7 separate regions of the Homo sapiens genome follow, and all the other regions are linked to region 2. The links are contacts of gene promoters, found by promoter capture Hi-C in blood cells and fetal thymus (Javierre and others, 2016). All regions are on one chromosome and are shown on one strand. Each heading gives the region's core, a stretch centred on a gene start or on the middle of the fragment in contact. The rest is flanking DNA. Distances are from core to core; before and after follow the strand shown. Region 1 overlaps IKZF2 (IKAROS family zinc finger 2). Region 2 holds the start of BARD1 (BRCA1 associated RING domain 1). Region 3 overlaps IKZF2 (IKAROS family zinc finger 2). Region 4 has its middle 59 kb from the start of MIR4776-1. Region 5 has its middle 54 kb from the start of LINC01878. Region 6 overlaps IKZF2 (IKAROS family zinc finger 2). Region 7 overlaps LOC102725082 (a long non-coding RNA gene).

Region 1 (2,993 bases), core at 197-2,696, 1.8 Mb before region 2:
GTGTTAACAAAAAAGGGGATTTTCCTGGAAGTTTAACGGGTCCATTTGGAACCCCCTAATAGCAGGAGGGAGGGTTGCTAAAATGCTAGATGAAATGCTTTCACCATGTGGTTCACACCCCAAGAACAGTCTTCTGGCTTGAGCATGCTGATAAAAAGTCTTACAATCATATCAAGATTTAAATTATTTATAATTTCTCTGACCATATTGCAATTGAAAAGTCAAGAGCATATGGCACATTTTTCAAGAAATCCTTTTCATTTGGCTCCTGTTGATATAATACACCAGGGGAATTTGACATTCCTTGCTGATCTTGAAGGAATCCTTTATAAATTTAATACTGGAGGATGATTTGGTAAGTTTTTCTTCTTTTTGCTTTGCTATTTCACTTGCTTCACAACCTCCCCTGCCCAAATTAGGTTAGTATTTTGAATTATGATACAGTCAAGGCAGGAAAATTTCATTTGAATTTATGGTATTTTTCATTCTGTGTGACACATGGAAGTGAAATTACTGGGGAATGTGGTAAGTATCCATGAAATTCTATAAATACATATCAGTGAGGAAAAACTCTAACAGCTATCTCAAATGTGATGGTGGAGTTCAAACTGGCCTGAAGGATAGTGGCTAGCTAACACTCAATAAAATGAATTTGCAGTCATATATGCCCTTTTGCATTTCTGGTTATGAAGATGTTTATAACAGAACAAACTTCTCATGGCAAAAGATAAATTACATTTGTAAAATCTAAGAAACAAAGAGATGTGTATGACTCACGTAGTGATTGTACAACATGAAGCAGAACTGGCAACCAGTTTTTGCCAGTGTGATTGAACAATCGCTATGACTTCTTAATTTTATCTTTGACTTCTAAGAAATACTGGTTTCTATAGCAGTAGTGTATTCTAGTAGTGTTATTGACCAGATCAGAGCACTCAGACCTCTTGTGTAATTTAAGTGCACTACTATGCTCTTTGGAGTAAGTCACAATTTTCTTTCCTAAGGTCTATTTTCTTATATAGAAAGGGGATAGGCTCTGATGTACACTCCTCTTTTTTAAAAGTGAAATAAGATATGTATGAAAGCTGTCTAAAGAGCAGAGATGTCATTCTTAACAAATCATGTAATACTTTGTTTTCTGCTCTGGTGGACTATATAGTAATGATGGAGATGACTAACGATTGAGATGTAGATTGCAGATATCACATGTATCCAAACCTCTGGAACTGGAAGTGTGACAAATACACAATGGCAATGATAATTTAAGCCTGGTATAGTCAACAATTTAGTCTTCTGTATTTGGAAGACATGTTTGTGTACAGAATTTTCACCAGAAAGTTTTTATAGCAAACTTTTTATGTCAGAAGTTTATTTTATTGGTAAAATATTAAATAATATACAGAATTAAAAACTGCACTTACACTTCTGAGAAGAAATAAATCTTGGACAAATTATATGCTTGTTCCTGAGATTCCCTAAATTTATTCCAGTAGCTGTGCACTCAGACAGTACAAACCTTTATAATATAATCCTTTTCACAAAGTATTACAAAGTTTCTGCAGCTTCTTTAGTTGTACACACATACAGACACACACTCACACATGCATATACAACACTCATACACATATACACAGTAACCACATACATGCACAGAACATGTATGTGTGTGCATTAAAAACAAAGAAGATACAAGTCCCACATTTTAGTCTGCAGTGATAAAACTATTTAGCGGAGGTCTCCAAATCAGTATGTAGTAGAGTGACTTGTCACACAGCTGCAAAGACTGTTTCAGTATTTCCATAGTAAACCTCATTTTCTGAGGTATGGTATTTGAGCCTTAAAAAAACTACATTACACTTAGCAAACCTGACATACAAGGTATGGAATTTTAACTTTACATATATATTTATATATATATATATATATTTCTTTTTTAAACAATAGTTTTTATTTCCCCAAATTATTAGTTTGAAAAAAAATGAGGTTTACTGGTTTGACCTATTTTTTTTTCTTTTTTTGCTTCTAAAACACAAAATACCCTAGAAACTGTCAAGCAATTAGTCTTTAAAATAGTCTAATTACCTTTGGTATTGTTAAAGAAAGAATATCTAAAATGGCCAAGACACATACTGTACAAATGCAGAAATGCAGTAACTGCCTTTAAAAGAAATGCCAAAGAAATGTTATCTTTTAACAAAACATGTATTTATATTACAGCAGTTTTACTACAGGGACACAGGTATAAAAAAAGAAAATTAGCACACTACATATAAATATGTATAAGAAAAATACCTCTTACTTAAATTTGTATGAAAACAGGACTGCTCCAAATATTTTTAAAAAAAATTTCTCCAATAGGTGATATGTAAGTGTTTAAAACTCAGCTAAGTGCTTTGCTTTTATTTAAAAGTTTATTTCTAAAAGGGGAGAAGTAAAATAAAAATATTAAGTATTAGGTTCTTAATTTAGAGCATTGGGCGAGGGTCTAAGAAGATTCAATCTGTAAAAAGTTCAACTTTAGGACACATTTTTCAAGCAAAAGATTACTAATTTCCATGGAAATTTAGCTTAAATAAAGATACCATGAGATCAGACTAGTGGTTTCCACATTCTGTAATCTTTTGATTGTGGAGTGTTTTTCTCTTTGCTTGTTGTGTCCTTTAACATACTATGACTTTTATGAGTTTCTTTTTGTCATTAGCTAAAGGAAGAATAGGTCAGAAAAGAAAAAAAAATCACCATAGTTTTTAAGACTTCAAGGGGAGTATTGCACTTGTACAGAAAGAAAAGAATAGTATCTTTTTAACTAATAGCAGAAGCAATCATTCTGGGATTGCAAATAACACATGGTCTAAAAGGTCCAACTATTAACAGCAAATATGGGGCCTGGAGACCCCCTCCAAACCTGGAATATTATTATAGTAATGTTAAAGCATTTTTCTCCCAATTAGGAGAAAGTTAAGACTCTTTGCTTTACATTTTTAACACCTTTC
Region 2 (3,041 bases), core at 463-2,962:
ACACAACTCAAATGTCTTCATGTACTCACTTATCTGAGTGTCACTTTTCTAAGAAGTGCAATGTCATTTTGTCACAGATATTAAAAGTTTTCGTCAAAGAAAATATAAGTGCAAAACTCTGACAGTTAAGTCCTTTTCATTTTTAAAGAAAAAGTTTGGCCGGGCACCGTGGCTCACGCCTGTAATCCCAGCACTTTGGGAGGCAGAGGCGGGCGGATCACGAGGTCAGGAGACGGAGACCATCCTGGCTAACACGGTGAAACCCCATCTGTACTAAAAATACAAAAAATTAGCCGGGCATGATGGCGGGCGCCTGCAGTCCCAGCTACTTGGGAGGCTGAAGCAGGAGAATGGCGTGAACCCGGGAGGCGGAGCTTGCAGTGAGACAAGATCGTGCCACTGCACTCCAGCCTGGGCGACAGAGCGAGACTCCGTCTCAAAAAAGGAAAGAAAAGAAAAAGTTGTGTTACTTATACTTTATGCAACTAGGTAACTTAAGTTCTGCAAGTTAGAAATCAAAGGGGAAAAAAGTCCAAAAAGGATATAAACTTTTGACAGCTACAAATAACAAAAAAACTGCCAGTGATCTTCATACAGAAATACTTAGCTGTACACACAGCAAGTGCTCAATAAAAATGCTTTTCAGAAGAAATGAAAATGAGACAAACCTTTCTTGGGTTTTACAAACCTTCTTGGTTTGTATACTAGAAAGAGCTACACGAAAAAAAGCAAGAAGTAACACTCATGAAAATGTCTTTGGACGGAATGAAAACCCTGAGAGGACTCCCATAATGTGACAGCATGAAGGAAAACAATAAACAGCATCACTAAGAGCGGGGACACCAGACATACAGTCTTTTGAGCAAACTAAGAAAATGAGAAATTCCGTGCCATCTTCAATCTACAACTATGGTAGATATCCGATGCTCCATCCCATCTCACTCGAAAAAGCTGGCACGGAGAAAATGTCAAAAAGGCCAGTTTAACTTAGAGTGGCAGCTGCTTCTAATTTAGAGGGTCTCCGGGGCGGCCCGCCAGCCCAATTCGCCACAGCTCCCGGAAAGCAGCGGGGTAATCCAGGGCCGGGTAAAAAATGCAGAAGCCTCAGCCCCACCCCAGCCCGATTCAAACTCTGGAGGCGCGACCGGGATGAACATTTTTTTAGCCACACCTCCAGACGGTTCTTCAGCCCGCTGAAGTTCAAAAACTACCGTTTCAGTTGGATTCAGGGCAAGGGGAGGCCGGTAAGTCGCCCAAAAATAAAGTGAATGAGAAGCAGAAGTTGTTAATACTATATCCCCCGGCAGGTGCTAACCGCACGCCGACCCGACTGCAGCGCGGGAACGGAAGGAGGAAACGGAAGATTTGAAAAGATTCTGCCGCCCCCAGAAACTGTGCGACCCGTGCCCTCGCAGCCACCCCCAAGAAGCTCCGTCTTTACCAACGCGAGCAGCGCAGCAGCTTCTCCAGGCGGTCGAGCGCGGCGCGACTGTGGGCCCAGGCACCGCGACCATCCGGTTCCATGGCGGGCGCGGAACGAGGCTCGTTCCCGGAGCGGATCCTCGGCTGCCGGTTCCTCGGCTGCCGATTATCCGGCATCGTCCCGCCTTCGGATGAAAGGCTCCTCGCAGAGCGGGAAGCAAGGAAGCCTCGGGAAACCACAGGGAAGCTGCAGGCCAGCGACTCGAAACCGGCCAAGCTCTTCCCGCGTCTGGGACGGCGGGCCGCCAGAGGGGCGGGGCGCGCGGGGAGGGGCGGGGCACGGCGGCCGCAATGCTCCCAAAATAGGGACTCGCAGGGCACAGGGGCGGGGCCGCGAGAGCCAGCCGCTGGCCGAGTGGGCGGGACCTAGGGGTGGGGCTGGAGGCTGAAACTTGCCAAAGTCCCGGCGTGTGGGACTTAGGGGAGGGGCCGCGAGAGCCGTGGGACCGAGGGGGCGGGGCCGGACGGCTGAAACTTGCCAAAGTCCCGGCGCGCGGGTCCTAGGGGCGGAGCCGCGAGAACACGCCGGGGACAGAGGGGGCGGGGCCTAGGAGCCTCGGGGCGGGACAGGACGGTCGAAACCGAAGTCCTGGCGCGCGGGGCCCAGGGGCGGGGCCTAGGGGCCTCGGGGCAGGACAGGACGGCTGAAACCGAGGTCCCGGCGCGCGGGGCCCAGGCGCCGTGCAGTGAGAGCACGCCGCTTGACCGAAGGGGCGGGGCCTGAAGGCTGAGCGCAGTCGCGAGGCTGTAGTTGGCAGGAGAGCGGGCGGGGCCTGAAGCCCCTCTGGGCTGCCTGGACGGATGAAGTCCAGGTGGAAAGCCAGTCGACGTTTCCCGGGAGCTACGACTCCAGGGACCCTCATCCGAGCTTAACCGTTGGAACAATCACAAACCCAGAAACTTTTAGCTGAGTGTTATTTATAAAAAGCGCTGTTTTGACTGCTGTTGGACTTGGAAAAGCTTTGCCCACGATACTGAAGGTACCACTCTTTGTTCCTAAGAAAGCAACCTTTTCTTTCCTCTCACCTCAGCTGTGGCGTATATTGTAACTGAGTAAAAATAAGGAAAGTTTCTAATTCTAACTAGTTAACAAATATCAGCTCAAAGGCATGTCTGAAAAGATCTGGTTTACTTTTAAAATATTGGTATAAAATTTCAAAAAGGGTTTTTTTTGTTAGAGAGTGTGTCCACCTTCCTCCTCCAGATCTTTCACTGATCGCCGTAATTTACAGATAAGACCTACAGAGCAACCCGTCATGCCTTCCTGCCGCGCCCCAAGTTCATTTCCAAGTCCTTGCATTTTTTCCCCCTAACTTGTCTCGAATGCACCCATTTTCTCTCCGTCTCTGCTCCACAACATCCCCAGTTGCCTCGTCCTCGCCTGGTTTCCTGTCGTAGCTTTCTAGCTGATATCCAAGTGTCTATCCAGGTCCCAGCCAGTCCCGAGACTGCGGTGTGGCCGCCTAAAACATTTCCAAACACAAAACTCATCGTGGCACTTCCCTTTCTTAAAACTCCTTAAAGTTTTTCTCTGCTCTTTGACTAGCCTCTTGTCAAAA
Region 3 (3,007 bases), core at 390-2,889, 1.8 Mb before region 2:
TTTGTAAGGTCTGCCATTGGGTAAAGACCTGATACATTTTTCCTTAATTATGTAACCAATCTGATTTTGTTTTGCTTCATGGATCTGGGTGCAACTCATCAAAATATTTCTGTGTATACATTGCTAGAAACATAAAACAAATTCTCTAGATATCTCAATAATGCATTAATCACATAGACATTAATCTGGGCTAAAGATATACCAATAAGGTAACTTCCCCTGTTTGAACAAACTTTATAACCAAACATCCTCTTTGACCTTATATTTGAGGTTATAACCAAGATAAAAACATAATTCCATTAGATCACTGTTTCATCACGTTGATAACCATAACGGCAAAACCATAAGTGTATTCCCAATGTATTCTTTTGAAAAACCAAACAGTTCACCCAAATTCAAATTCCAAGTCTGAGGGACCTAGGTTAGATCACATGTCTAGCTCCTGAGCAGGAGAGGGCAGAGTACCTGGACTGAGGGTCCCACCACAGCTACATGCAACAGGAAAGTTCTCTAAAGGTAAATGGGCACTCTTGTTATCAAGAGAAGGAGGAAGGGATGTCAGGCAGGCAAAAACAACAGATGTCTTCTATATTGTTGCAAATTTTCTCCGTGTTACCCGATCTAAAAAAAAAACTTTACAGTTATCTTAGTTATTTTCTTGACAGCATTTGGCAGTGCTGACACTTGCTTTGGCTTCTGTGAAATCACTCTTTCCATGTTCCTACTCTGCTCTTACTCATCTTCATGAAATTTTTTTCCTGCTAGTGTGTTCTTGGCCTTCTTGATGTCTCACTCTGTACTTATCCGTATTGCCTTATTAAAAACTACTACGTTGGGCCACTACATAAATTATGATGGATCCTGCATCTTTGTTTCCTACTCAGACCCCTCTCAAGAGCTTGAGATCTATATATTTAACATCTTCCTAGACAGTTTTATTTGCCTATTTCATGGAGACATAAAAGAATATAGTAAAAGAAGTAAAATCTCCATTTACCTTTCTTTCTTCTATTTTCCTAATTACCATATCACTGAATGACACTACTAATTACCATATCACTGAATGACACTACTATTTACTCCATCAGCCATGCTGGTCACCTGTGGAAAATCCTAGATTTCTTCCTTTCATCCAGTCTTCTGCCTCTCCTCCTCCCTACCACATCTCTTTACAAACACACATGGAGGTACCCCAAGTGTTTTAGATGCTACATTGGTAGTTGTTCACATATGTTGTTCTTTCTGCAGGAAACACCCTTCTCCATTTATTAGTTCACATTTTTGCTTTTTAAAACTAAGCTCAATCCCGGGAAATTCCTCTTGGATGTTCTGCTGATTTAGGTATGTCCTCTCTGTCTCCATAATGCTTATCACATAGTACTATAATTGTTGTTTTACTGGTCTATCTTCCAATAGCTGGTAAATAACCTCAGGGGTTGCATTCTGTTGTATTTGTGTCTCTAATACCTTTTATGATACAAGAGAGATATAATATTCAATGGATGTTCACTGAATGATGTCACCCAATAGAAATAAGTCAAAAAAGCTTATTCCAAAGTTTGGGGGTGCCCAATAATGCCTCTATACTGTGAAAAAGAACCTCCCTTTCCTAAACAATTCAAAGCATAAACCTAACAATATATATAGATTTTAAGCTGGCTATCCTTCTGCTTTGCACTTTCATTTTTGTCTTTAGGTTTAGGTAAAACAGGTAATAACATAGTTTGATTTTAAAGCTTTTCCTTCAAGCTAAGCAGACTTGAAAAAGCAACATAAAGATAATATTGAACAAGATAATCTGCCATAAAACCTAATTAAATAAGATAAATAATCTGCCCTAAAACCCAATAAAATAAATAAGCTCATCAAACCCAATTAAATAATTTAATTATATAAATAATCTGTCATAAAACTCAATTATTATTTCCAAAACTATGAGTCATGATATTCCTCCTTTTTCCTCAAACTCAATCAACTTTTCTAAGACCATTTTATTCTACCTCCTAAATATGTCTTCAATATTTCACCTTGTTCTCTTCTGCAGTTGCCTCTTCATCTTTTTCTTTTTGGCATTGTCATTTCCAGTCTCTCCTCACACCATACCCCCTGCCCCAGGTAGGCATTTATCATGTATCCTCATTGGAGACATTTTTCTTGATTTGATTACCTCATTAATAACAAATTTGGTTACCCTAGTGGCCCCCCATCAGTTACACAATGAAATTCAAACACTAGCTTAGCAGAGAAGACTCTGTCTTTGCATCACAACCTACTAATTCAGAAGCTTCATTTCCTACCACTCCTTAAACTGCAGTTACACTCAACATCAGGGAAGCTGTTAATTATCTTTTATATCTCCAAGCCTCTTTTTCTCCTTGAATATACATTCTCTGTATCCTGCCTGATATATGCAATTTTTACTCATCCCTCATGTTTGGATTGAACACTCCTGCATGTAAGAAGCCTCTCTTGACTTTTCCAGAGTTAGGTTAATTCTACATCTATGTTCCCAGAGAACTGTGTATGCATCCTTATTAGAGCTTTTGTTTCATTTTATTTTATTTTTTTAAAGTATGTATTTCCTACCAGACTATAAAGTAAGTGTATTAAAAGACTGGGTCCATTTATTTTTATACCCCAGAATGTTCTATATAACTTGGCACATAGTAAGCTCTTGATAAATGTTTTCTGAGTAAAGTGAAAATGCCTCTTTTCCTTTAAAAAATTCCATACTAGAAGAACAACACAGGGAAAAACATGTTTTAGAAAAGAAAGACTAGGAAATATAACTATGTCAGATATTTTTTAAAAACAAGTAATAGTTAAATCATTTCATGGAGCTAATGGCAACCAAAATGACAGCAACTCTCATATCTACCACAAAAAAGGAAAACAAATAAATAACATACAGCAAGAGAAGGGAATAGATATAAGTTTCATCATGGTTCTGTTTAAAAAGAGACATATGCCAAGCTATTTATATGAGACGTATGTTAATGATGAACTC
Region 4 (3,124 bases), core at 252-2,751, 1.9 Mb before region 2:
TGAGGAAATTACATATTTCTATTTCTAAGAAAACACTTTTTTTATATTTGTTTCTTATGCAGATACCATGCCACATTTTTTCTAAGAAGCTTTTACATATAATTTGAATTTTCAAATGCACAATTTTTCCACCAATAGCCTTTATATCAATTACTTCACTTTATTAACTTATTGCATTCCCTCGAATCTCCCAATGTTGCAGTGGTAATAACAGGTATCCCTGTGTAATATCTGATTTTAATTGAAATACTTTTCTTGTTTAACAACTCAGAATAATCACTAGATATTGGATTTGGGGAAACCAATATCTTATTTATGCAGTTTCCTTCTTATTTCACTTATATTTTTGTTAGAAATGGCTATTTGATTGTCTGAAATACTTATTAGCATTTAATGGTTTAGTCATATGGTTCCCTTTAAACAAAATTATGTAATAAATGATGTTGATTGATTTCCAGATATTGAACCATCCTTGTATTCTTAAAATAAAATCTACTTAGTTTTCAATATATTTCTAGATTCTATTTGTAAATATTTTCTTTAGAATTTTTGCATCTATATTTGCAAACTATATTTTATATTTTTCTTTTTATAGTATATTTGTCAGCTTTAACATTGTTGCTATTTTATTAGGCCATTCTTACATTACTGTAAAATACCTGAGACTGGGTAATTTATAAGAAAATATGTTTAATTGACTCATGGTACTGCAGGCTGTACAGGAAGCATGGTTCTGGCATCTGCTTGGCTTTTAGGGAGGTCTCAGGAAGTTTATAATATGGCGGAAGATGAAGGGGAGCAGGCGCATCACATGGCAAAAGTGGGAGCAAGAGAGAGAAAGTGGGGTGGAGGGGAGGTGCCACACAGTTTTAAATAACCAGATCTCATGAGGACTCACTATCATGAAGCTAGGACCAAGTCGGGGGGATCTGCCCACATAATCCAAACAGCTCCCACCAGGACCCACCTCCAGCATTGGGGATTATAATTCAACATAAGATTTGGGCGGGGACAAATGTCCAAACTATATGTTATACTAGCTTTAAAAATGAATTAGAAAGATTTCCACTTTCTTCTCATTACTTGGAAGAATTTAAGAATCTTTGAAATTTTATTTTCTGTAAAGGTCAGAAAGAACTTATTTGTGAAACTGGTTTTGTTGCCTTTCTACATGGCAAATCTTTTTATTGCTTCTATTATATTTATTTGGGTCATTCCATTTTTTTCACTTTTTCTTGAATCAATCTTGGTCATTTACATTTTGTTAAGAGATCAACATCTTTGGCTTTTAAAGTTTTGAATATTAATTTGTATTTAGTAATGTATAATTAATTAAGTTTATTCTGCACTTAGAGTTATGTCTCCTTTCTCAATTTTATTTTCACTTTTTGTTTCATTTTGTTTTTCACTTTTAATAACAGTCAAATAATTTATTTGATAGTCTTGAAATAAATATTTTTTGATATGTTGGTCTTTTCTATTAATTTTTAAAGTGTTTAAAATTAATTTCACCTTAATATTACTAATTCTCTTTCTCTAAATTCTTTTGTTCTTTTTTGTTGTTATTCTGCACATTTCTTAAGATGGTCACTATCTCTTACTCTTTAATTGTTTTTATTAACAATAAAGGCATTTAAGGCTGTAAATTGTCTTCTTGGTAAATTTTGCTATTTACCATAACTTGATATGAGACATACTGCTTTTAATTACATTATGGTGAGCTTGTAATTTCAGTTTTGTTTTTCCCTTTGATTTATACATTAATTTAATGCTTTTCATTAACCAGAATGCCACAATAAGAGCATATTAGTATATTATATAAATGGCACCAGGTATTACAGCTATTTTTCAAATTCATTCTTGAATCAAAACTTCAAACAATGGTATAATAATTATGTTTGGGAGCCACCCAAATGTTACCACAAAAACAAAAGTGCATAAACATAGCTGGAAATGAATGAAAGCACTGTGCAAAGTTCCATATGTGCTTCAGCATTCCATGAGTCTCCTTTAAAATAAAGAAAATAAACCATCTATGAATATATTTTGGCAACAGGAATATGTAGTATGTTTTAAGATTCCCACTACACATCAGCATCTCCTAATGCATCCAATTAATCAGGAAAATAGTTACTCCTCACGGCAACCAGTTACCTATTTATTGGCTGTGGGAAGGCAAAGTAACAATGCAAAAAGTGGCATGAATCTTATTTTCCCAAAAATGGGAAGAGAAAAATGGTTCTCAAAAGTTATCTGGATCTGCACAACTACTACTGAGTATCTTCTGATATTATTTCATCCCAAGTTTCTCTTTACTAATAAGGATTCTAGACAACTAGCTCCTCTACTGTTCTGAGTGTTAAGTGGGCAGTACCAATCAGATGAAATGAAGAGCTATCTCACATGGAAGGAAGAGGACAAAACAACAACTACTCAGTATGATTGCTCAGTGCTTCTCTACAGAGGAACAGGCAAAGAGTATACAGGGTTGGGTCTTGGCAGGAGCATAGCATAGGTAACCCCTATTAGAATAATCCCAACCCAAGTGCCTCTTTAATTTTTCCTACTCTTCTAGGTAAGTTCACACATTCAATTACTTATTGAATATGTACCTATTATGTGCCAGGCACTAGTCTAAGCTGTGAGGATTTGATTAAAAGATATAGCTCTTGTCCTTAAAGGTCTTTAAGTATTTTTAAAAAGAAGACAGGAAAAAAAAACACAAATTATGGCATAATAAGAACACTGTTATAACTGAATAGAAAAGTTTAGTGGGAACAGAACAGAAGGAGCATTTATGGGCCCAGTGCATAATCAGGACTCAATAAAATTGAACAAAAACAAAAGTGAATGAGTAAATGAATTAAAGACCTTCAATGATAATGAAGGTTTCATAGGAAAAAACTTTTGAATTGAAGCTTATAAAAGCAAGAATTTTCTGGAAATGCAGGAGGAGAGGGTCCTAGATAGAAGGAAAGGCAGATGCAACTTCAGAGGGTAAAAATCATGGCACAGTAAGGGAGCTTTGCATAATTTAAATGGCTGGAAGTTAAAGATCCAACTATTGGGAGGAGCAGGGCCTAAGAATTGAGGCTGGACACTTGGCCGGAGACATCACTGATAT
Region 5 (3,106 bases), core at 417-2,916, 2.0 Mb before region 2:
TTTTTTATTATTTCACTTTTTATTGTTTAAAAATTTTTTTCCTTTAATAGGAATAAACTATGAGAACAAATATTTGCCTTTTTATTTTATTTTTCATGTCTGCTTTATGGCAGCAAGCACAGGATTAGCAGAGGCTTTACAATATTTATGATTTGACTTACTTGCAATGAATATTATTTCATATTGATTGAACTTTAAGTTAAATAAAATTTTCATGCAAACTTTTTTTGCTTTTTAAAAAGCTTCTTCAGATTCTGAAGTTTAAATCTTGTCCCCATTCTGAAGCTCAGAGTAGATCAGAAAAAAATGACTTGGTTTCATGAAGATGTCATGCATATTAACATACATTTTCTATTTCCTAACAATTATTTGACATGGATTTCATGTGGACTTTTCAAGTGATTTGCCTTAAAATATTACCTAAATTATTAACTCAAAATTTCAATTGCATATACAACATTCTAAATTCATCTCCAATTTTTCCCTTCAGGATTCATTATTATACTTTTATTTATTAGCAAAGAGATACATTTTTTGAGTAACTTCCCTAATCAAACATTTTAAAAGTACACAGATACACCCCAAAGAGCCTGTAGCTTTAGTCTGATCTCTAAAAATTGCAGATAAGCCTCTATATAGAAGATAGTTGAAATGTATTTATTATAAATTCAAGGGACAAGATTATTCATGATTTCCTAGCTGTATGGTACTAGATGAAATCATTCATAATTCGGGCAAGTTAACACTTCGTTCCTATTAACATGTGGAGATCTAGATAACAGTCAAGATCAAACCAACAGAATTTCATTCAAATTTGGAGAGTTGGAGAGAACCAAAAGTTTGTTCTAGGAAGCAATAAAAAAAATGAGGTTTGGTTAAATTCTAAGATCAATAAATTAGTATGATTTATTTGAAGCTGAAGGTTATGAAAAGTCCATTTTCAAAACACTGGTTGATTGTGTTTCTGAACCAAAAAGCCAACAAATATTTACTGAGTGTCTACTATCTCCATGGCCCTATTAGGTGCTAGTGATGGATACAAAAAAATATATAAAATATGATTGGTGATTACCCACATGAAGCTTTCAATCATGTTAGAAAGGAAGAAAAAGACACTTATGCATAAAAAGTTACAATATCAACTGGTGTTTTGCAAATTAGTTCATATTTACTTTGTTCTTATTCTCTTTTAAAATTCTCAGGAAGCTACATGTAATTTCTAGAAAAGGTGATAATTTAAACAATGTTTAAAATTTAGTAGAAAGAATTAGGCCAAAATAAATATTTAAGTGTAAAATTCAAACAATTGTTAAAAATGTATTTTACAGGCAGAACAAACAAGGGAAATTATATTTATTAAAACTCAGATGATTAGAAAAGCAACCAGCGGAGCTGGATAAAAGAAAGTTTAATATAAAACTCTTGGAGGACAACAGCCTTGGTGCAATGAAAGGTGTCCAGACCCAGGAGGGCTTCCATCAGAGCACTTCCTTTCTTTCCGGACCCTGCAGAGTACAAAATCCTCGTAGGTGCATCCTTAATTATTTCTTCACATAACACAGAAGCATGAGCCAGCTTTAAAATTCTAGCTAAAGAATAGGGCCTTGGGCATCAAATACATGCACACATAAGGAAGTTCTTTCATACTTAGGAAAGTAGAGACTGAACTATTGTGCAAGCAGAAAGGGTAAGAAGCCAGGAGAGGCCCCAGAGTATACCATTCACTATGTGTGCAGTAATTTCTGTAAGAAGGTAGTGACATGCTTGTCTGCCTCACAGATTACCCGCCCAGAAAGCCTATGTTAAAGAAAGGAAAAAAAAAAAAAAAAAAAAAGTTGACCAAAAAGTACTAGTAGAGCATAGTCTCTTATAAAAAAATATTTTTATAAATAAAAAGAAGTGCACTTTTATGAGCAAGGTCACATTTACCTTCAGGAAACTGTCATGTTTGGGAGTTGGGTGTGGAGATGGAGCAGCTTGTGTTTGGGGTAGACAAAGAATGCATTACCTGTAAGGCAGGTAAATTATCAAGTGGGAATCACTTACCTCCTGTTAGAACTACAGGAGATGTTGAAAACTATTTACTTACTAAATAAACAAGCAAATAAAATGAAGATGAGGGGTTAATAGAACTCAATTCAGGACACAAAAACAGTGCAGAAAATCATGAAGATCAACAGAAATATTATTGCTACTGAAGAACAAATGATTTGAGGAATAGATGGGGACAGATTGCAAAGGTCAAGAAGTTTAAGCTTTTGGACTTGAATCAATGAGCAATGGAAGGTCCATTAAAGCTTGAGAGGCCAGGAAGGCTAAGGATAGGGCCAGCTGGAGAATATGAATCAAATTCCGATTCAGGAAGATTTATCTGGTAAGCTTGTGACATAACAAAAATTAAATGTTTGGTCTCTGCCCCTGGCTTCTGGCATACAGTGTCTAAAACCTTTGTAATTTCCTGACCAGTAGGGGTGCTGGATGTATCTTTTGTCCTAATATTTGGTCTTTGACCCGGTTCCTGACACAGAGCTTCTATCCTTTAGGATTTTTTGGTTGATAGGAGCATCATTTATTATAATGAGGCAATTTTTGTGGGCTCCTAGATATGGGCTGATCACCAGAAACACCAAACTATAATTAGAAGCTTGAAACATTCAGCTCTTGCACCCGAACCTCTGGGAAGAAGAGAAGGGCTGGAGATTAAAAATCAAACATGCCTATGTGATGAAGTCGACATAGAAATCACTAAACTATGGGGTTCAGAGAGCTTACATGTTGGAGAACACATCTGCCTGCTGGGAGAGTGTGGCACAGAGGCTTCTATGTTTGGGGCCCTTCCAGACCTTGACCTAAATATCTCTTCCTCTGGCTGTTTAACTGTATCCTTAAAATACCCTTTGCAATAAATTAACACTAGTAAGTAAACTGTTTTCCTGGGTTCTGTGAAATGATGCTCTGGCAAATTATCAAATCTGAGGAGAGGGTCATGGGAACATCCAATTTGTAGCCAAGTCAGATAGAAGTCGTAGGTAACCTGGGGACTTACTAACTGCAGTTGGCACCTGAAGAGTAGAAGAAAGTCTTGTGAAACTGAGTTCGTAAACCA
Region 6 (2,930 bases), core at 337-2,836, 1.8 Mb before region 2:
GCAAATGTGAAATATTGCAAGAATTATTTAAATGTGACAGAGAGACATGAGGTGAGCATGTGTCATTGGAAAAATGGTATCAACCGACTTGCTTGGAATTAGGGTTACCACAAACTTTCAATTTGTAAAAAACGCAGTTATCTGTGAAGTGCAATAAAGTAAGGCACAATAAAGGAAGTTATGCTTGTATTTCCTTTCATCTGACTTTCTATATTACAAGAACTCAGGCTTATGAGTAAGCAAATAATTTGGATAGCAAACAGCTCCCAAAATAATCAATTCAGAAGCAAATAGCTTGCTCTAACTTATGGAATATTCATATAAAGAATATGTATTTGTATATCCAGAATGTGGTTTCTTACTTGGATCTCAAATTCTAACCCTAATGCCAGTTGTGTGTGAAGCCTAGGTTACGTTAAATTAGGAAATAGTTGTACCTAACTCACAGCATTTCTGTGAGTATATATTTTTTTTAATCCATATGGAAAACTCAAGGTACTTAACACACAATAAATGATCAATAAGTGGAAAATCTTTTTTTTTCCCTGTAGCAGTCAACATCTTCTAACATATTATATGATTTTTTAACTGATTCTTGCCCGTCTCCCCTTATTAAAATGTAAGCTCCACAAAGACAGTCTTGCAGTCCACAATCTCACAGAGCTTACATTCGAGTGAGGTGGGATGGCACAGACAACATGTGTATAAACTAAACACCAACATAACCACAGATTCTGATTCAAGCTTTTTATTAAGATAGAGATAGCAAAATAGAACTAAGGGGATGCTTCTGGTAGGTTGCTTATGGATGCCACTATTTTCAAAGAGATGACATTTAAACTAACATCTGAAAGATAATAAGGCAACTATGCCAAGATCTTGGGAAAACGCTGAAGGTGTTGACTTCTAGGATCATCCATTAGTTCAAAAACAGTAGGAAAGAATAAAGAAACCTCGGGTTGCAAAGAACCCAGAGTGAGGCGTAAAGTAGTAGAAGATCAGACAGTAGAAGTGGGCAGAACCACCAATGGCCATGATTAGTAGTTTGATTTTATTATAAAAGCAATGGAAAACCATTAAAATATTTTAAGAAGAGGAGTGACATGGTTTAAATCAGATTTTAAAGTAACATTCTGGTTGCTATCTGGAGAATAGATTGGGAAGCAGGAGTATAGTGGCTGAGAGCAGAGACCCTAGATTCAGACAGACCAGAGCTTATATCTCAGCTTTCATGAGTATATTGGAAGTTGGATAAAATGTAAACATATAGTTATCAAGGTATGATTTTTTTTGCTATATCAGATCATAATTTTTAAAGTACTCTCACAAATATAATTTATACTATTGTTAGATTTATTTTGTTCTAAGCTGCTATATGTCTTCAAGCCTCATGATAGATTTTTGTTTATAAGAGCATGATACAATTCTTGTTTTATTGTGCTGTGGGTGTGTATGTGTGTGTTTGAAATCTAATCCAATAATACATTGTTGCCAAACCATGGAAAATAAAAGAAAAATAAGGTGAAAGTATAATCTGTATAAGCTGAGGAGGCATACATGTAATATGTAAAATGACTGCGTGAGGACATTAGGTAACATCTCTTTCTTTAAACTTGACTCTACTTATCTGCAAAATAAGGCCCTTAACATAATGCTTGTCACAAAATAAGAACTTATTAAATATACCCATAATTTTTAATTTTTGTAATAGACTAATACTTATCATGTACTAGGAAACATACTCAACCACCATTGACCTCCATGAATCTTTAAAACCTTTCTAGTTAATATAAGAATATTCAAATAAAATAATCTGTCCATTAATTCATTCAATCAATATGGTATATAAGGGATGAAGATGCAAAATCTCTTCTTTGAGATGCTGGATCTAGGACCTTTTATTCTTATCCAGTTGCTTATAATCATTATCATCATATTTCTATACAATTTAAAAGGACTCCACTCTGATAGATTTCTGATACCTTACATAAAACTTTAATTATATTCTAAATATATTTTACATGCTTATGATGAATGATACTTGGTTTTTATCTTTCTTATTTGTCTGATTTTCTACCATTTGAGAGTTTTCTTACAGTATTTGGCAAGATAGTATAGGCTGTGGATGAACAGGTTTCTTTGACTCACATACACAGATCAAGTAGGAAAAATTGAAAGAAATGGTAAAGGTTAGGTTAGAAAAAAACATCCAAACAAAACACACCACACACACACACACACAAGTCCCAGTGTGTCATGCCCTTCTGGATACTAGGTGAGTAATAAAGTTTGCGTGCAGCCTCTCCACTTCTGTTGTGGAGTTCCAAACATGCCAGGCCTGCAGACTCATGGTGTGGAAGGGAAAATGTGAAATGGCCAAAGTTAAGACTGTCCACACTAAATCCATGCAGGGTACAAAACTGTGGTAGCAAGCTTTGGAATGAGGACAGTGTAGATTATTCAGAACAATGAGAAAGCAGCTAAGAATCTTGTCCATTTCTTTAGAACTCCTGATAATAAAGGAGGAAGGAAAGCTTCCTACAATAAATTGATCTTCTAAATGACTTGCACCAAAGTGAAAAGAGCTGCATAGAATTATAAAAGAAAGGCTTATTAATTCCTTCTAGAAATAGGGTCTGAAAGAAGCATGACTACTACAATTCATAAAAGATGTGATTGTATATGCTATTAAAAGTTTTACTTTCTTTTATTAGAAACAATAACGAAGAGTAGATACATAATGGTTATTGGTCTGGGGTAGGGGGAAAGAGGCGTTCTACCTGGTGGAAATCAAATGGGCTGTCTTACAGCCGGCCTGACTGAAAGTGGCTTTTACCTTCTAGGTAAATTTCAATGAGTAGGACCTCAAGTGTGTGTTTTAAGAGTCAAGAATGAAAATATTAATCCCATCTCCTTTCTTCAGTGTTTAT
Region 7 (3,012 bases), core at 287-2,786, 1.8 Mb before region 2:
TTTCTTTAAAGGCAGGTATTTATTTTTCACCCATTAGTATCTAAGGAAATCCCTCATACACAGTTAAGCATGTCATATGTATTTATAAATTAAATTCAGTGACACTATTTTCCCAATATTGATAATATTTTGACAGTTAAGCAATTGGTCTCTAAGGGTCAATTAGAAATCTAATTTGCAAGAAGAAAATGAAAAATGAAAAGAAGCCGTATAATTCTGGATTCGATCTTTTTTAGGCTAAGAAAATAAAATGGAAGACCCGAATCAAAACAGGGTATCTATCAGATCATTTTCTGATGTGTAATGTAGACTTAGTTTTAAATGCTAAAAAGTAAAAGTTACACCTTATATTAGTAGAATGGTTTTCTTACAAGAAGCTCAAACTCTTTTGAAAAGACTCCCATATTTTCAAGGACATGCAGGTTCAAGTGCAAGAGTGTTTGTGGGATAAAGGTGTCATAAACCAGATCGTGGTGTTTACAACACCAGCAAGCACCCTGTGTAATCTCACACCATTCAACTTAATAGCTGCTTCAAAATATAGGACAATAGAGTTTCCTAGGATTCTCACATACAGAAGGAACCTAGCTTATTTTTCTTTTTCCCACTTCATGTATAAGGAACAAGGGTCAAGGAAGGCTAACCTCACACAGCAAGCTAGTCCAAACATAGCAGTTACATTGCCTGACTGCTCAAGGTCTATATTGCATTAACTTTCACCTGCTCAGGAAAGACAAGTGCAATACTTTGTTTGGATGAAAGCAAAAAAATTCGGGTATCCAAACCAAACAGCTTAGGTGAGAAGATGATTCAGCTTATTCAGATCTAGGCAAACAAATGAGAAAAAATAAAAGGAGGGGAAAAAAAAAAACCCTTACAAAACCTACCATTCCTCAGAAAACCTAATCCCACAACCAAAAAAAAAAAACATAACATTTTTAATTTTTAGGAAAAGATATATGTGGCAGTATAGCGTAGAAAGAGTAAAAGTTGGAAAAGAGAGATTTAGAAATATACCGAGTTACATGTAATGCACACAATGTGATTTCTGATAATTTTGGAAAGATATTTTGAATTGACTTTAAAGGGAATGGAGAGGGATGTGAGAGAGTGAACTTGTTCATTTAAGCATGTTTTTCCCCCAGTCCTTACTGCTCATCTGAAAACAAGAAGTAGAGCAGGTCAGGAAAGGGGTTATGGTTAACACTGCAAGATGAAAGATAAGCAGCCAGGCAGTTAGAAGCCAAGGCATTTTATCTAGAAGAGCAGGTCTGGCCTTGTTTCTATCTTGATAAGAATTAGATTGGAGAGCTTGTTTGTCTATAGACTAGGATGGGGTGGAGGGGTGTCGGGGCTGAAGGAAGGGGACAGGGAAGTCAGGGGCTGAGTTATGGAGTAGTGGCAAACCACTAATGTAGTGATAATTCCCTCTTCTATGTTCTATGTCTACCTGAACTTTGAAATTGCTAGACTTGTCTATTTAGATAACATGGCTGTGTTTCTTTCAAATATGGAGACTTAAATATCTAGAAAGTTTAGGTGACCTGAACAGGCTAATTGCCTAAGTCTAAAATTTCAGGACAATAGCTAACTGGATGGGCTATTAACAGAGAACTTGAAAGAAATGACATTTTAATTTAAGCAGCTCTTTAAATGGTGTGTTTATCTTTATTCTGAAGCATATGCACGATATACTCTGACTTGCTTTTTAAAGTTGTGTTTTCATTTCAAGTTTTTAAAAATACATTACAATTATAGCAGCTTCCACTTTCTTACTGCTCTGATTTGATGATACAACTGATTTAGAATTATGTTTTACAATATAATTATTAAAATTTGTAAAGTCCTAAGTTCACCAAAATTTGTTCTGATTATGGCCATGACTGTAAAAACAGCAGGTTTCCCTGGGATTTTATTTGCTTTTACCCTTAGAATTTTAGTCCATAATAGAACCAAGAAATCAGAATTTCAAAATGAAACGGGTTATCTTTTTAAAAAAATAAGCCTATAAAATTATTTGTAGCTATTTGAAATGATTCTTAATCATGGTAGGTTTATGTTGCTCATGACCTTAGTTGTTCAAGTAGAGTTTGTTGAATACACAAGATGATTAGCAGAGGAGGAAGCATTATAGGATTAATATAGTTCATAAACCTTTAGGGGTTTATAGCCTCTATGAGAAATAAACCAGGGCATTTTTAGCCCAAATGATTAGATACCAAAACAAATTTGTAAAAATAACAGGTGGGAAGAAAGCATCTTGAAACAATATATTTTTTCTTATTATCTTGGCCACTGTATAGATTGTCTGGTACCTTGAGTCTTATCTTCTCTGTGGTCCTGAGGCAGTCCCTATATATAATTAGCTCTGGACCTGGCCTGACCTCCAGGAGCAATGTCTAGAATGTGTTCATTACAGTGCCTGGCACATAGGAAGAGTGAATTGAGTGTTTGTTAAATGAATACAGATAAGAATAATCAAAATGCTCATTGGTGAGATTGATTAAAATAAATTATATATCCATGCACTGGGATACTATGCAACTGTGAAAATTATGTAGTTAACTATTTAATAACATGGAAAGACAATGACAGATTATTAATTAGAAAAAAGTTATAAATCATATGAGTAGAATGATTCCATATGTGAATAAACAATATGTACCTATGTATTAGATATGTATGATAATTTTTAGAAAGATACATACCAATATGCTTATATGTAAATGGTTGGATTATGAGGGGATTTTTTTTCTTTTTTTTTTTTTTTTTGAGACAGACTCTCACTCTATTGCCCAGTCTGGAGTGCAGTGGCATGATCTAGGCTCATTGCAACCTCCGCCTCCTGGGTTCAAGTGATTCTCCTCAGCCTCAGCCTCCTGAGTAGCTGGGATTACAGGCCCCCGCCACCATGCCCGGCTAATTTCTGTATTTTTAGTTGAGATGGGTTTTTGCCATGTTGGCCAGGCTGGTCTCAAACTCCTGACCTCAAGTGATCCACTCACCTCAGCC

The links. The method cuts DNA at HindIII sites, captures the fragments that hold promoters and counts their contacts. A CHiCAGO score of 5 or more calls a contact.
Region 1: a fragment that was not itself captured here is called in contact with the fragment with the promoter of BARD1 in region 2 in 1 of 17 cell types (naive B cells); the score reaches 5.9 in naive B cells.
Region 3: a fragment that was not itself captured here is called in contact with the fragment with the promoter of BARD1 in region 2 in 1 of 17 cell types (total B cells); the score reaches 8.4 in total B cells.
Region 4: a fragment that was not itself captured here is called in contact with the fragment with the promoter of BARD1 in region 2 in 1 of 17 cell types (fetal thymus); the score reaches 6.3 in fetal thymus.
Region 5: a fragment that was not itself captured here is called in contact with the fragment with the promoter of BARD1 in region 2 in 1 of 17 cell types (fetal thymus); the score reaches 5.1 in fetal thymus.
Region 6: a contact is called between a fragment that was not itself captured here and the fragment with the promoter of BARD1 in region 2, in 2 of 17 cell types (total B cells and fetal thymus). The highest score is 7.4, in total B cells.
Region 7: a contact is called between a fragment that was not itself captured here and the fragment with the promoter of BARD1 in region 2, in 1 of 17 cell types (erythroblasts). The highest score is 5.3, in erythroblasts.

The regions. Positions count from the first base shown.
Region 1 is chr2:212,998,346-213,001,338 of GRCh38, forward strand. IKZF2 (IKAROS family zinc finger 2) reads right to left here. Exons shown (of 9, transcript NM_001387220.1): 9 at 1,353-2,993. Among named protein-coding and RNA genes, the nearest start is that of MIR4776-2, 74 kb to the left of the region's middle. The HindIII fragment of the contact is 4,483 bases long and covers 1-2,993 here.
Region 2 is chr2:214,807,971-214,811,011 of GRCh38, forward strand. BARD1 (BRCA1 associated RING domain 1) reads right to left here and starts at 1,713. Exons shown (of 11, transcript NM_000465.4): 1 at 1,442-1,713. The coding sequence starts at 1,599. SNHG31 (small nucleolar RNA host gene 31) reads left to right here and starts at 2,259. Exons shown (of 4, transcript NR_110292.1): 1 at 2,259-2,462. RefSeq lists enhancers at 652-701, 992-1,071 and a silencer at 1,622-2,191. The HindIII fragment of the contact is 4,673 bases long and covers 1-2,440 here.
Region 3 is chr2:213,016,424-213,019,430 of GRCh38, forward strand. All of the region lies in intron 7 of IKZF2 (IKAROS family zinc finger 2), which reads right to left. Among named protein-coding and RNA genes, the nearest start is that of MIR4776-2, 92 kb to the left of the region's middle. The HindIII fragment of the contact is 190 bases long and covers 1,545-1,734 here.
Region 4 is chr2:212,865,740-212,868,863 of GRCh38, forward strand. No RefSeq gene overlaps it. Among named protein-coding and RNA genes, the nearest start is that of MIR4776-1, 59 kb to the right of the region's middle. The HindIII fragment of the contact is 2,829 bases long and covers 88-2,916 here.
Region 5 is chr2:212,847,698-212,850,803 of GRCh38, forward strand. No RefSeq gene overlaps it. Among named protein-coding and RNA genes, the nearest start is that of LINC01878, 54 kb to the left of the region's middle. The HindIII fragment of the contact is 1,173 bases long and covers 1,081-2,253 here.
Region 6 is chr2:213,034,720-213,037,649 of GRCh38, forward strand. The region is part of intron 6 of IKZF2 (IKAROS family zinc finger 2); the gene reads right to left. Among named protein-coding and RNA genes, the nearest start is that of MIR4776-2, 110 kb to the left of the region's middle. The HindIII fragment of the contact is 1,689 bases long and covers 743-2,431 here.
Region 7 is chr2:212,978,756-212,981,767 of GRCh38, forward strand. It overlaps LOC102725082 (a long non-coding RNA gene), which reads right to left. Exons shown (of 4, transcript XR_007088066.1): 1 at 1-3,012. Among named protein-coding and RNA genes, the nearest start is that of MIR4776-2, 54 kb to the left of the region's middle. RefSeq lists a silencer at 2,277-2,477. The HindIII fragment of the contact is 3,660 bases long and covers 1-3,012 here.